Linked DNA regions of Homo sapiens: regions 2 and 3 are each linked to region 1. The links are contacts of gene promoters, found by promoter capture Hi-C in human tissues and cell types (Jung and others, 2019). All regions are on one chromosome and are shown on one strand. Each heading gives the region's core, a stretch centred on a gene start or on the middle of the fragment in contact. The rest is flanking DNA. Distances are from core to core; before and after follow the strand shown. Region 1 holds the start of KRT5 (keratin 5). Region 2 overlaps KRT2 (keratin 2). Region 3 overlaps KRT75 (keratin 75).

Evidence for each region. Contacts are between HindIII fragments. The study calls those that stand out against the background at their distance.
Region 2: a fragment that was not itself captured here is called in contact with the fragment with the promoter of KRT5 in region 1 in 4 of the 25 tissues and cell types used here (H1 embryonic stem cells, dorsolateral prefrontal cortex, liver and 1 more).
Region 3: a contact is called between a fragment that was not itself captured here and the fragment with the promoter of KRT5 in region 1, in 3 of the 25 tissues and cell types used here (H1 embryonic stem cells, aorta and spleen).

The regions. Positions count from the first base shown.
Region 1 is chr12:52,519,144-52,523,680 of GRCh38, forward strand. KRT5 (keratin 5) reads right to left here and starts at 1,251. Exons shown (of 9, transcript NM_000424.4): 1 at 599-1,251; 2 at 1-17. The coding sequence starts at 1,153. RefSeq lists enhancers at 1-338, 3,158-4,123. The HindIII fragment of the contact is 8,601 bases long and covers 1-4,537 here.
Region 2 is chr12:52,645,727-52,650,263 of GRCh38, forward strand. KRT2 (keratin 2) reads right to left here. Exons shown (of 9, transcript NM_000423.3): 3 at 4,188-4,248; 4 at 3,281-3,376; 5 at 2,447-2,611; 6 at 2,004-2,129; 7 at 1,014-1,234. Among named protein-coding and RNA genes, the nearest start is that of KRT2, 4.2 kb to the right of the region's middle. The HindIII fragment of the contact is 3,386 bases long and covers 432-3,817 here.
Region 3 is chr12:52,425,442-52,429,978 of GRCh38, forward strand. KRT75 (keratin 75) reads right to left here. Exons shown (of 9, transcript NM_004693.3): 6 at 3,177-3,302; 7 at 2,815-3,035; 8 at 1,376-1,410. Among named protein-coding and RNA genes, the nearest start is that of KRT75, 6.7 kb to the right of the region's middle. The HindIII fragment of the contact is 7,225 bases long and covers 1-4,537 here.

The DNA.
Region 1 (4,537 bases), core at 1-2,500:
TGCTCCAGGAACCGCACCTGGAGGGGAGCAGGGTTTGAAGATAGAGAAACTTGGATTTCATGTTCTATGATCAACTCACTAAGGTGCCTCCCACCTCTTTCCGTCCCTCTAAAGCTTTTCTGTGCACTGTGCCTGGCCCTGGGCCCCAGGAGGGGAGGTGCAGACTGAGGCACCCAAACTCACTTTTCCAGGGGGAGATAGGACACCTATCCAGGGCACAGAAAGCACTAGGAGTGCTGCTTGGAGTGTGTCCCGGCTCAGGGGTGGCTGCAAAGGCACTCAGGCTGCTGCCCATGCACTTGTCTACCTTCCTGTACAGTCAGCCCCTTTATATATGGCATGAAATTCATCTCTCTGTCCAACAGTTGTTAAGAGGCCCTTGTGAGCTAACCTCTGAATGGGAAGAAATAATTCTCCCTTCCCAGCTGCCAGTCTAATTCAGAACGTGTCCACAAATCCAGGGCACAGAAACAAACGGAAACACAGAACTGTACAACTATAAAAGTATTTGCACAAAGCCAAAACATCTTCCTTCTTTCTCTCTCTTTGGCATTTATTTCAGACCCACAGTGATTTTTTACAAAAGATCGTAGCTCACCTTGTCGATGAAGGAGGCAAACTTATTGTTGAGGGTCTTGATCTGCTCGCGCTCCTCGGTCCTCACCCTCTGGATGCTGGGGTCGATTTGCAGGTTGAGGGGAGTCAGGAGACTCTGGTTGACAGTGACCTCTTGGATACCTCCAGGAGGGCAGACAGGAAAGCCAGGGCCACCGAAGCCACCTCCAAAGCCAGCTCCGCCACCGAGCCCAAAGCCACCACCAGCTCCACCGCCGAAACCAAATCCACTACCGGCACCACCTCCAAAGCCATAGCCGCCTCCAGCACCAGCACCAAACCGGTTCCTGAAGCTGCCACCACTAGTGCTGATGGATATCCTCTTGGAGCCCCCCAGGTTGTAGAGGCTCCGGCTGCCATAGCCACCCACTCCACAAGCACCCGCAAGGCTGACCCTGCCGAAGCCACCACCACCGCCACCCCCGGACCGGGACACGGAGGTGAAGCTGGTGCGGGAGACAGACGGGGTGATGGCAGAGGCGGTGCTGAAGCTACGACTGCCCCCGCTCCGGAAGGACACACTTGACTGGCGAGACATGGTGGCTTGTTCCTGGTGGAGCAAGAGAACCAGGCACTAGTGGGTTGGGAGGTGCTGGAGAGAACAGAGCTCAGCAGGACGCAGAAGGTGGCTCTGTTACCCAGGAACGGTGATGCCCCCTTTTTATCCCTTCCAGAACTGGGCTGGGCGAGAGAGCTGTCGAGCTGTGAATGATTAAGTGGGCTGGGCATGCCTGGGGGGCAGCTGTGAGCTCACCGGTCACACCTGCACAGTGGTGTGGGGTGCAAACGCTTTCTTCCTGGCAGGCTCTGCTCAGTTAGAAATAACCTTGCCTTGCAGCACTGATCTCTTGGCAGCAAGTTGGTGACGCTGCTAGCAAGTATGTCTTCACCATAGAGGCTGGGGGCTGTGAGCAGCCCAAAAAGGATGCCAGGAACTGAGGGGGCATTGGCATGGCCAGTGTCCTGGGGACTCTTACAGGACCAGGAGTATTGACAACCATCCCAGTACGGTACATGCTGAGCACCTGCCCTTCCAGCTTGGGGAAGCTGTCCATCAGCGGGGGGCAAACGATTCCCCAGTGATCTGCTCTTACACTTTTCCAGGCAGCAGGTTGCTGCAGGGTTTTCCCCTCTGGGAAAGGCAATCTGTAGCCTTATATTCTTGGTTATGTGCTAGAGGGAAAATAGAGTTTCATCCTTTTCTGCACAATTTTTTTCTTAGGGAAGGCACAGCTATCCCAGAGCCCACTGGGCAGATCTGCCTGCAAGGTTTAGGCCAGAGAATGTGGGAAGCCCTCAGCGCCCCCTATAAACCACTTTGACCTCTTTAAGGCCAGGTTTATCCTTCCATAGCTCCTCCTAACTCAGCATTTTTTCTGCCCTTTGACCTTTTCCTTGCTCTTTGGCCTGGGCAGGACTCTGTGGGGGGTTTAGGAAACCCGGGGATCCCATGCAATCCCTTAAAAAAAAACCCTGAGACTCATGGGCTATAGCGTCTCTCTTTGGGGGTAGCTACTCTGCCGGTTCCCCAGCCCCCCAGGTGTGTTCCAGCAAGCTCTATTCCACTAGGGAAGAAATGAGTCATCGTATGTGTTGATACAGGCTGAAGGCCGCCACAAACACATACCTGCAGGAGCTTCTAATCTCATCAGGAACATGTTGAGAGTCTGACGGCCTGTTATAACGGCGAACCACCCTGTTCCAAGCAGCGGGACTTGCTCTGCTTTCTCTATGCTGTAGCCCACAGCCTCCTTCAGGGCCAAGGCAATGGAAAACGGGATTCTAAGTCTATGGATTGTCCTGCCAGAAAGGCTAGCCAGAGCAGGCCTGTGGGCCCAGGCAGCTGGCATGACAATCTGCCAGCTGCTTTAGGGAGGGCCCTTTGAGATCCCCTCTGCAAAACTTGTCTGGGGGGTTGTGGCACCAGGTGGAGGAAAGGGGGTTTCTGATGAGGTTTTAACACACGTCTGTTCTAAACCACACCCACTCTTTTTGGCAGCAGATCTGAGTGGGGCCACCTCTCTGCCGTCCCCCAAATAGAAGCAGGGCTCTCAGGCAGGACAGTGCTTGGGCTGTTCAGAGTTTCGGGGGCGCCCTGTGGCCCGAGGCTGGAGGTAGGAATGCAATGGGGATGGCTTCAAAGCCTCAGGGAGGAGGGGCTATATTCTCAAGAGTAGAAGAACAGGACCAGACCCAGGCTCAGGAATCTCTCACCAGGGCCTGCGGTTGGCCACAAGGAAGCCAAGGCAGTGGGAAAATGACTCCCTGGTGCTGAGGATCAGCTGAAACAGTGACTTCTCACCAGAGGGCTGCGATGAGCAAGCAGCTGACAGGTCAATCTCGGCAGACAGACCAATGGCCGGAGCCGGTCTTACAGGTCTTGAGCAAAATGGTTTGGGTGGCCTCCCTGGCTGGAGCATTTCTGAGACCCTCAGAGATGAATTGTGCTGAGCTCACCATTTTCACATTTGGTTGCTTTCTGGAGAACAGATGTGAGTGTCCTGGAGGCCTGAGACATACCAGGGGACCCTCGGCTCCTGATAGAACAGAACAGATCCAAGCCTGAAGCAAGTGTCTGAGGACTCGTAGTGGGATGCTCCTGCTCCACTCAAAGATCGATATCGGGGTATATCCCCACCACCACATACACTCACAGGTCCCGGGTACAGACCTCACTGCCCTCAGGGAAGCCCCACCCCTCCTGAGACACTGGGACATTCTCTTCTCCCCATTCATTCTCCTCCCAGCTGTGTTGTGAAGAAAGAGGACTTGGCAGAGCAGGAATGCGTTCTGGCTAGTCTGAGGATTGCTAGAGTGTGCCAAGCTCAGATCCATGTGCCAGGGACCAACGGTGAGTGTGTGGTGCTCCATGGGAGCAGGGAGCATGTGGGTGCTCCATGGGAGAAGCAGCAGCACTCTTCTATCCGAGCTTCGTGGGAATCCTCCCATGAGCAGGCAGGGCAGCCCCTCCCTCAATGCCAGACCTGGACAGGTATAAATAATGGAGCCGCTCCTGGTGGGGAGCCAGGCACCAGCACCACTGCAGCTCGGGAGAGTCCCACCCCAGCCTGGAATTTCACTGTGGCAGGAAGGGAGGGATTGTGTTAGGCTCACCAGGGAGCTTTCCTGCTGGGCACCCCACAGAGGCAGTTCCCAGGCTTGGTGGGACATGTTGCTCAGCTTCTCCTCTGGGTGCTGCTTTCCTTGTCAGCAGAAGACAGTGCAGGGCCCGCCCTGCTGCTCTCCCCATCAGAGAAAGGACAGTAAGCTGGCTGCCCTGACCTCTCTCGCAGAGCTGTGCAGGGAATGTAGGACCTGGTCAGCATTTCATACATGGAGAAGCCCTTCACAGACACCAGGGAGAGGGTGGTATCCATTCGTGGAACAAGGGTTAGGCAAATCCTGCCATCCCAGCCCAGGATTCCTTCTCCTCAGAGCCTCCACTCCAATCTGTAGGGCTTTAGTAGAAGATACATTTAATAGAGCATGATAAATAGAACATGTTCCATAAAACAGCATTTGTACATATCCTCTAAGTCCCCCCCAGCAGGGCAGTCTCCAAGGTTAGGGAACATCTCTGCATGGCCCACACCCTCAGCCCAGCCTTGGGCACTGGAAGTGTTCTGCAGATATTTTTTGGAGTGAATTGACAGACAGAAAATCCTCTTCCTCCGCTCCTTCCCCAGATTGTTATGTGAAGCCCACAATGGCAAGAACCTCAATTGCTTTTGCACCAACCTATATCTACACCAACCTATGTATAACAGAATGTATATACATTATATATATTCACATATATTTCTGTGAATCCTCCAGCCCTATGCTGAGTCTCAGAGTCTTGTCCATCTGATTTTGTCTCTCAGTCCGTGTCTACAGGATGAGTCTGTTGTCCCCTTCACACTGGGTATGCTCTGTGTTTAGG
Region 2 (4,537 bases), core at 875-3,374, 130 kb after region 1:
TGACGACAGACCCCCTTCCATTTATGCACAACCTTGCATGTCAATCCCTCTCAATTTTTGCTCTGATAAAAAATGAACAGTTGCGTGGTTGATCCAAGGTCACTGAAAAGCAAATTCACTTCCTACTTTGCAACCCATTTGTGTATTTAAATCCATCTTGGAGAGTCTGTTATTCAGAATCCATGCCACATCAGAAATTATACAATGAGGCTGCCTGTGAACATTCAGTTCAGAAAGAACTGTGACTCTGTAGAGCCTCCCCATTCCTCTCTTCTTCCCACCCTCTTCAGCTTCAACTGAAAACTTTCCCACTTCCTCTTACAAGCTGGGCATAGGAGGCATTGCCTCTAGACAGGGACAGAGCAACCTCCTGAAGAAAGCCACTCCCTGTTTGTCATGCTGGCTTGCTGATGGCCTGGGGTAGCTTTTCCCCTTCCAATTGCTTCAGCCAGATTAAGTCACCCAAGATGCTGATAATACGGACAAAGGTCTCAGACTACAGAGGAAGCAAAGGGTGCCTCTTTGAAAGTTAGCAAATGGTTCCATTTGTCACTCCAGAAACCTGCAAAGAACTGGGGCTGGCACCTGCTCCGGTCAGCACGTCCCCACCAGTCAGCACATTCCGAGACATCATCTCCCCCATTCTGGGTCACCCGGTGGAGGGCACAGAAGCCACTCACCCTATGGACCTAGAGACCAAAGTTTCAGACTGTCTAGGACTAACCTGTTTTCCCATGATTTTGTTTTCTCTTTCAGAAAAGACCAGGATGTTTAACTTACTGCTTAGTTTAATTTAATGTGCCTTATGCATCATTTCATGTTGATAAATGTGTAACTCTCCAATCATGCTTTATGTCCTGAGTTTCTGCTTGGGGAACACAGAGAATGTCAGTTCTCAGTTGTCAGGAGGGCCTGCCCCATTCTCTGCTTTCCCTGTCTTTGCCTCCAGCCCTGGCTCTGGGAGAGATGAGAGGAAGGGCCAGGGTCCCCTTCTCCCTTCCCAGTGCCCTCACCTGCACTCCTCGCCCTCCAGCAGTTTGCGGTAGGTGGCGATCTCCACATCTAGGGCCAGCTTCACGTTCATCAGCTCCTGGTAGTCACGCAGCAGCCGCGCCAAGTCCTCCTTGGCCTGCTGCAGGGCCTCCTCCAGGTCATTCAACTTGTTCCTGGCATCCTTGAGGGCATGCTCCCCACGCTGCTCGGCATCTGCGATGGCATCTTGCACATTCTTACACTATGACAGAAGGACAGAGAATGGATTCTGCCTGACGGAGGCGGACAGAGAGCAGAGGTGTTCGAAGTGCAGGAAGCCAGAACCACTGGCCCTGGGAGTGTTAGGTCCCCTCTGGAGTTTAGTCGCAAACAACTGTGCTAAGACTTGCCGCTGTCTCTGGCACATCTTCTTCCCATGTCACCGTTGATGACACCCTTTGGCTTTCCCCATAGTGCCCTTTGATCCTCACATCACAGGGCCTGAATCATGATCCCATTTTACAGATGGAAATGAAAACATTTGAAATGGTCTGCTTGGCAAAGCTTCTGCTGCTGATGGAATCCACTCTCTGCCTCTACCTTTTCTATTCCAAAGCTAACGTCCAGCCCCAGGCCAGCTGCCCTCAATACTCACTGCCCCTCTATGAAACCAGTCGGCTGGTGCTCAGGGCCTGTGCTGAGCACAAACGGGAAGCTCCATCGGCAATCTGCAGCAAATCAATCAAACTAACGTTTGCTCTATTTGTTATGACTCCCTTTTCCTCATATAAACAAGTGAGCACAATTCTTTCCCTTCGATAATCCTTACTTTGGAATGTCTATTAGAGCACTCTAAGAATTGTTATAATAAGCCATAAATTATGTTAAGCTGGGGAATTTGGGATCGATACATGCTAGAGTGCAATATCTCAGTGTCTCTCATCTCTCACATGCACACTCACACACAACCACACTCTCACGCACACCCAGAGACAACCTCCCGCCCCTCGCTGGACAGGGCTGGGCCTCACCTGCTTCTTCACATGTGCGATCTCCCCCTGCAGCCTCTGGATCACGCGGTTCAGCTCGCTGATCTCTATCTTGATCTCTTTCAGGCTGTCTCCATGTCTCCCGACAGTCACCTGGAGCTCCTCATACTGATATGGGGAGAAGAGGACAGTTTGCAAGGAAGTTCCAGCCTGGCTCACATTCCAGACTGACTGGAGTGAAGGAGAGCTGGTTACTGGTCCAGGGAGGGTCAACCCAGCTAAATGTCATGGCTGCATTCATGAGAGGTAGGGACTGTCTCACATGCCCAAAAGGACTTGGTGCCATTCTCAACATCCTTTCTTGGGAATGGTGCCCAACTACCATTAAACAAAAAACCAATAACCTTACTGTACACTTTCCAGCTGGGGGTGCAACCCAGCTCATGGCAGGGAGCTGTGGCTCTTCCTACATTCCCTCTACTTGCCTTGCTGTGGTACAGGGCCTCCGCTTCTTCCTTGCTCCTCTGGGCGATCTCCTCATACTGGGCCTTGACCTCGGCGATGATGCTATCCAAGTCCAGGTTGCGGCTGTTGTCCATGGAGAGGATGACGTTGGTGTCAGTGACACTCTGATGTATCTGGGATATCTCCTACAACACACAGGAAGGTCTGGTCATGACATCCTGCCATAGCTACAGGCAGACAGGAGGCCTCTGTCTCCCAGCATAAGGGAAACGCAGACCCTCAGACTAAGCATACACTAGGTGGGATGAAAATCATGTAACCGTCTACTCCTGGGCCTCTCCCAAGGTTGTCCTGAGAATTGTAGTGAGAGGCACCTGTATTTCTGAGCCTCCTAGTTAACATTCAGCACTTAAGCCAGTTATGGTAAGTGCCCCCAGACAGAAGCTTGTCCATGGCAAATACCTTAAATGGACTTCCTGTTTCAGAAATCATCTGTGCACCCTTGGGTTGGGGAGGGGGATAGGAGACAAATGCATTTTGACCTCTGAAGTACAGTAGGCACAGGAATGGGCACAGGGCTTGTCTCTTCCCCAGGGGAAATGGACATCTGGGGAATGGAGGGAGGGGAAGCTGTCCTGGTGTTTCCTGAACCTTATTCCCATAACATCGGAGGAGAAAATTCCTCACCCACAAGACCTATGCTATGAAAGCCCCCCCAGTGGCCTGGAATGATGGCAGATTGAAGTCAGCTGGTCCATAAACCCCACTTCTGCCACTTTTTCACCAAGCAGAAAGGACTTTCATTTGGTGAGAAGGGTGGGAAGTAAGGGACTGTCCCGGAGCAGCCTCCTTACCGCATCATAGAGAACTTTCAGAAACTCAATTTCCTGGTTCAGCAGGTCCACCTTGGACTGCAACTCCACCTTTATCATGTAGGCATTGTCCACGTCCTGCAAGAAAGGTTGAGGCCTCTGGTGTATGGTTCCCTGTACAGGCCTCTTCCTCTCTCTGCCACTCCCCTCTACTCAGTCCCTGCTGGCTCCTCTCTAAAATCCCAGGCTCCCCAACCTGATCCCTGTCCCCATGGGACTTCTTTTGTCGTGCAGTTTACCATACACCTCTGCCAGGGACTTCATGCCTACGTCCATGGCTCACAGCCCTCAGGACCATCAGAGCCTCGAGATGACCAAGCTTTGCCAACCAGCCCCTCTCTCCTGCTTGAGACACTGTGTGTTTCTACAACAGGATACGATGTTCTTTGTGGGTTTCCACAGTCCTCAGCTCTCTCATCCCGTCTGTCCATCTCACCTCTCCGAAATTTCCCCAGAATATACACCAAAGGCCCTGCAGGACCCAGCAGGAGAACCCTTGCTTTTGGCCTACAACCTCAAACCTTTGTCAGCACAACCAACAGCAACTTTAAGCAGGCATTCTAAGGGAAGTCCCATTCCTTCCTCAGCTCTTTAGAAGGAGAATACAAAGAGATTTTTGTGTTTGCATTTATCATGATTCAGTAGAGGCTTTAAGTGGGTTACTACTGGGAAGCACTCTACCAAAAATGCAGAACAGCTTTGAAAACTGTATCCAGAAGCTTGACCTACAGAGACAATTTTGTTTGCAAGAGAATGTGCCATGGGTCTCACTCCTTTCTCTGGCTGCTGCTTTTGCACTCACAGTTGATTTCCAAACTGGCTGCTTAGACACAATGGGGCTGTGAAGCACTCCTATCCCCACCCCCAGCCAAGACATTCTCTCGCTCACCTTTTTAAGCGTCACAAAATCATTCTCAGCAGCTGTGCGCTTATTGATTTCATCCTCATACCTATTGGGACACAGATGTTACAGCAGTTAGATTAGTTCCCCTTCATTTTTTTTCTTTTCCTTTTATACTGGATTCACCCCAAATGCCCCATTCTCTGGGAATATTACACACTTTTTAAATATCTAAATTGAAACTAAGATTTCCAAACTAAAGATATATTTTTATAAACTAACTCTCAAACATACAAAAGACAAAAATGATCTCTAAAGTCTCACTGTCTTCCTCACAAATAATCAACAAAGATACATATGCCTCTCCCCATTACCACCACAAATGCAACTGGGAGATG
Region 3 (4,537 bases), core at 989-3,488, 93 kb before region 1:
ATCGTTGCAGGTATAACCAAGTTAAGATAAAGTCTGTAGGGTGGGCCCTGATCTAACATGACTGGTGTCCATACAGAAAGAAGGAAGACATTCATCTGAAGCCACAGACACACAGGGACACGGTCATACAATCACAGAAACAGAGAGTGGAGGGATGCAGCCACAAGCCAAGGAACACCGAGGATGGATGGCCACCGCCAGAGCTAGGAGGAGGCTGGAGGGGGGCTGGGCTGCCCATGCTGCCTCCGTGTTCCAGAACACTATCTGGTTTGGAGAGGGGATAGTGCCACCCTGCATGATATACAGAGCAGGAGGCTGGTCCAGGCTCCAAGTTTCAGAGGGACCAGGGCCCTGCTAACCCTTAATTTCAGCCTCCGGAACTGTGAGACAAGACATTTCTGTTGCTTTAAACCACCTGACTGGTGGTACTTTTTGCAACAGCCCTGGAAAACTAATACAGACAATTAGGTGTTTTCAAGAGAAAAGGAGCTTCAAGGTTATGCTTGAAGGCCTGTCCCCAAAATTAGCTTTGAGGGTCTCTGGCACCACTAGACAAAGACATCAGGGAGGAAGGACACCTGGGTGGTTCAGAGGGCTCTGCCTTCTAGAATCATTGGCTAATATAATGAATTGCCCTTATGAATGCCCATCAAGAAAACCAAACTCAAACTCACTTGTAGAGGGTGAGTTGTAAGAGTCATTTCTGTTGCCCTTGTGATGCCAGCACTGAGCTCTGCGAATGACCACTTCTTCTCTCACCAGCACAGGGCCATGCCAGCTTGTTAATACCTCTCCTGTTTTAGAGCTACTGTAGCCAACTGCCATATTTTATGCTGCCCTTACTGCCTTGAAAACCCTTGGCATCCTTCTGCAGTTATACTCGGCAGAGTTGAGCCAAGCAGTGGAGCTTCTTCTCAAACTGTTTAGGAGAGAAGCTGCCTAGTTGGCAATGCTCTTGTCCACAGCATGAAGGCTCCCTTCAAAGGTCCAAGCCAGACCAGGAATTTTCATAAATCCCGTCTACATCAAGTGCTCACCTCTGTGCTAGGCTTGCAGCCCCAACAAAAAGGCAGGGAATTCTGGGAGGTAGGAGATGTGGCCAGGATCTTTTAAACCCACTCAGAACAATGACATCAAACCTCTCATCACCCCTTCTGTGACACCCTCACTCTCAAAGAGGAAAGAACTGTGACATTAAAGACTCCTAATATGGCTTGCTTTTTAAGGGACCCAAAACCTCAAACCTTCTCCAAATGAACGCTGTCTGTGAGATCCCGTCTAACCCGTCATATCTTCACCCTCTGGCAAGCCCACCACATCCCCATCCCCTCTACCACACACACTCCAAATGGCCCAAGAAGTATGTCATACTCACAAATGTTAACTGGAGAAACTCCCTCTCCACTCAACCTGATTGGGAAGAGCAGGGAGAAGGAAGGTTACCAATGTGGCCAGCAGCTTAAGGGCCTTTGCAATGACACTTTTGTAATTGTTGACAAAGCATTTAAACATACTTTATTATTTTTATTGCAGAAGTAATGCAGGTTGAAATTATTTGAGAACTAGTAGTATTAAAGATAATATTAATAATCTAATGAATAAAATAAGGTGGAGTTTGAGGTTCACAGGAGCAAAATCTATAATCTCAGAAATACAATTTTTGGTTTAAACTAGTTAGATGCCTTAAGGAAATTAAAAGTAATCATATACTGGCATCAACTGGAAAGAAGGGCCTGTCCTATAATAAGATTTGTCTCTCAACAAGGGACCATTGTCATGCACTGAGCCAGGGCTGAGCTTATTGTATATAGGTGTGGAGAGGCGTCTGAGTCATAAAAATAACAATAGTAATATCAGTTTATTATTATCTTAGCAACCAAGTAACTTTGCTTTAGCATCTTCAGGACAGAACTGGCATTCATTCATAAACACATACTGAGAAACTTAACAAGAGGTAACAGCTGTTGATTACCTGTTACTTATATCACACCACTTAGTTCTCTCAACAACCCCATGAGGTAGGTATTATTTGCTCACTTTTATAGAGGGAGAAATGGAAGCTCAGACAAGTTAACTAACTTGCCCATAGTCGCAAAGCTGGACTTGAAGACAGATTCATCTGACACCAAAGCCTATGTCTTTGGCCATGAAACTGAATGATAGCTAACATTTATCGAACACGCTGTGTACCATGCATTGTTCTAAGAGCTTTGTGTGTATTCCCTTATTTTAACCCTTTTAATAATGTGAGAGTTTAGAACTATTGTTATTCACATTTTATTGGATGAGAACACTGAGAGGTGGAGAGGTTAAGTATCTGCTCTTGGCTACACAGCTCCTAACTGGCAGAGCACAAAGCTCCCATGAAGCTTTGCGGATCATGTAATCTGACCTTTTCATTTTATCATTGAAGAAATTGAGGGCCAGAGAAGGGAGACTGACTTTCCCAAGGTTATGTAGCTACTTAGTGTTAGATCTGTAAGCCCAAATCCTAGGACTGTTTGTTCTCAGCCCATGGCCTTTTAGACCACATTTCGAGAGCTGCCATGTAACCAAATGTCTCCTTTGGTAGAATTCAGTTACTTAGACCTGATCAGGTTTTAGGTTTCTATGGGGATGCTAACTGTAGTTGCACCTCAAATGATTTACTAGCCTGGAAGGAAATTAAAATTATTTTTTTGCCATAGCCCAATTCTGAACTGCATTTTCTTCCAGGAGAAGAAGGGGCTGCAACAGCCCGAGCCCCTAGGAATGCCCAGGAAGCTGAGGTGAGCTCAACTTGCTTTGAGGATGAAGTTGGTGCATCTGCCTCACCTGCACTCCTCGCCTTCCAGCAGCTTGCGGTAGGTGGCGATCTCCACGTCCAGGGCCAGCTTGATGTTCATCAGCTCCTGGTACTCACGCAGGAGCCGAGCCATGTCCTGCTTGGCCTTCTGCAGGGCCTCCTCAAGGTCCACCAGCTTGGCCCGTGCATCCTTGAGAGCCAGTTCTCCCCGCTGCTCTGCATCAGCAATGGCCGTTTGCAAGCTGGAACACTGTAAGGACAGGAGGAAGCCATGAGTCCTGCTGACAGCCCATGGAGGTGTGGTGCTTCTTGGGGAGGAGTTCTTAAAGATGGCAGAAAGGCCCAGAAGAAATGAGCATTTGAGGAGCTCTTGGCCCTGCCAAATCTTTACCTGCTTCTTGACGCTGTCAATCTCAGCTCTCAGCCTCTGGATCATGCGGTTCATTTCAGAGATCTCTTGTTTGGTGTTTCGAAGGTCATCCCCATGTCTGCCTGCGGTGACCTGCAGCTCCTCGTACTGAGAGAACCAGAGCAAACCCAGTCACTGAGTCAAATGCCTGGCCCAGGCACTCGCTGTGCACACAGACCCACCCTGGGTGCCACAAGCAGGCTCATTCATTCCTGGTCATTCACTCATTCCCCCTGAAGCTTACAGTTTATTGGGGGACATAGACATTAACTGAATTAGCATATTATCAAATGTATAGTTCCACACTAAGATAAGTGCCCTTAGGAAATGAACAGGGTCCTGGGAGAGTGTAATGAAGGAATCTGACCTAGATTTGGAAGTGGGAAGTGGTGGTCAGAGAAGTCTCTCCAGAGATGGAGATGCTTGAACTGTGGTCTGAAGGATGAGAAGGAGGGACCTAAGTGACCAGTTGTGGGGGAGAACATTCCAGACAAAGGAAACAGCCTGCATGAAGACTCTGGGTCAGGGAAGGAACATGGTGAGTTCTAGGAGTGAGACGGTGATTTGATCAAGGTCCCTGGGTAGTTCCTGGTCACAGAGCGTGCATCCAGACCAACTGTGCCCATGAATTTTGGTAGCCCTCCAAACACCAGTGCTGGGGAAACAGGGAGGAGATATGGGGGAATGGTGTGGGATGGTGCAGAGGCTGTGGAAGGCACAATTTTGAAGACTTTGTAAAAGTATTCCCAATCTCAGGTAGTTCTCAATCTAATGGTGCATATCCAGGACATGTGAATTTAAGAGCAATAATTACACCCTGTCTCCTCCAGCAGACTGAAGTGAAACCTACACCTTTCCCTGACAAAAGGAGATCCCCTGCCAGAGTCAAGATCTGTGGGGTTCTTGAAAGTGCTGAATAGCTCAGGTTCCCGCTTCTAGGTATACATGATTAAATGGAGCAACAACCCAACAACATGAGGAATCGTTTGCTATCGATTTCAACCACTTCACCTTGGGGTTAAGTGCATCATGTTTCCTTTCACCGTCAAGGCGCTGCCTCTGCCCTGTGGAACCCTGGTCCCTGCTACCCACCTTCCTTTCCACCACACTCCTGACCAGAAGGGATGAGGCAACGTATGGAGCAGGGAAAGAGTTGGAACCTGCTCGTAGGTGAGAAGCTGCCCCAAGAGGGGTCTGGATTTGACAGGGAGCTGGTATCATGGGTCAATTGTACCCCGCAAAGCCAAACTTCTTTGCGGCTGTCTGAGCTCTGGGCAGTAGCTGTTTGTGTTTATCCCAGCCTTCCTCTTCCTGACATAAACTCCCTTGCTTGTTCTTGCCTG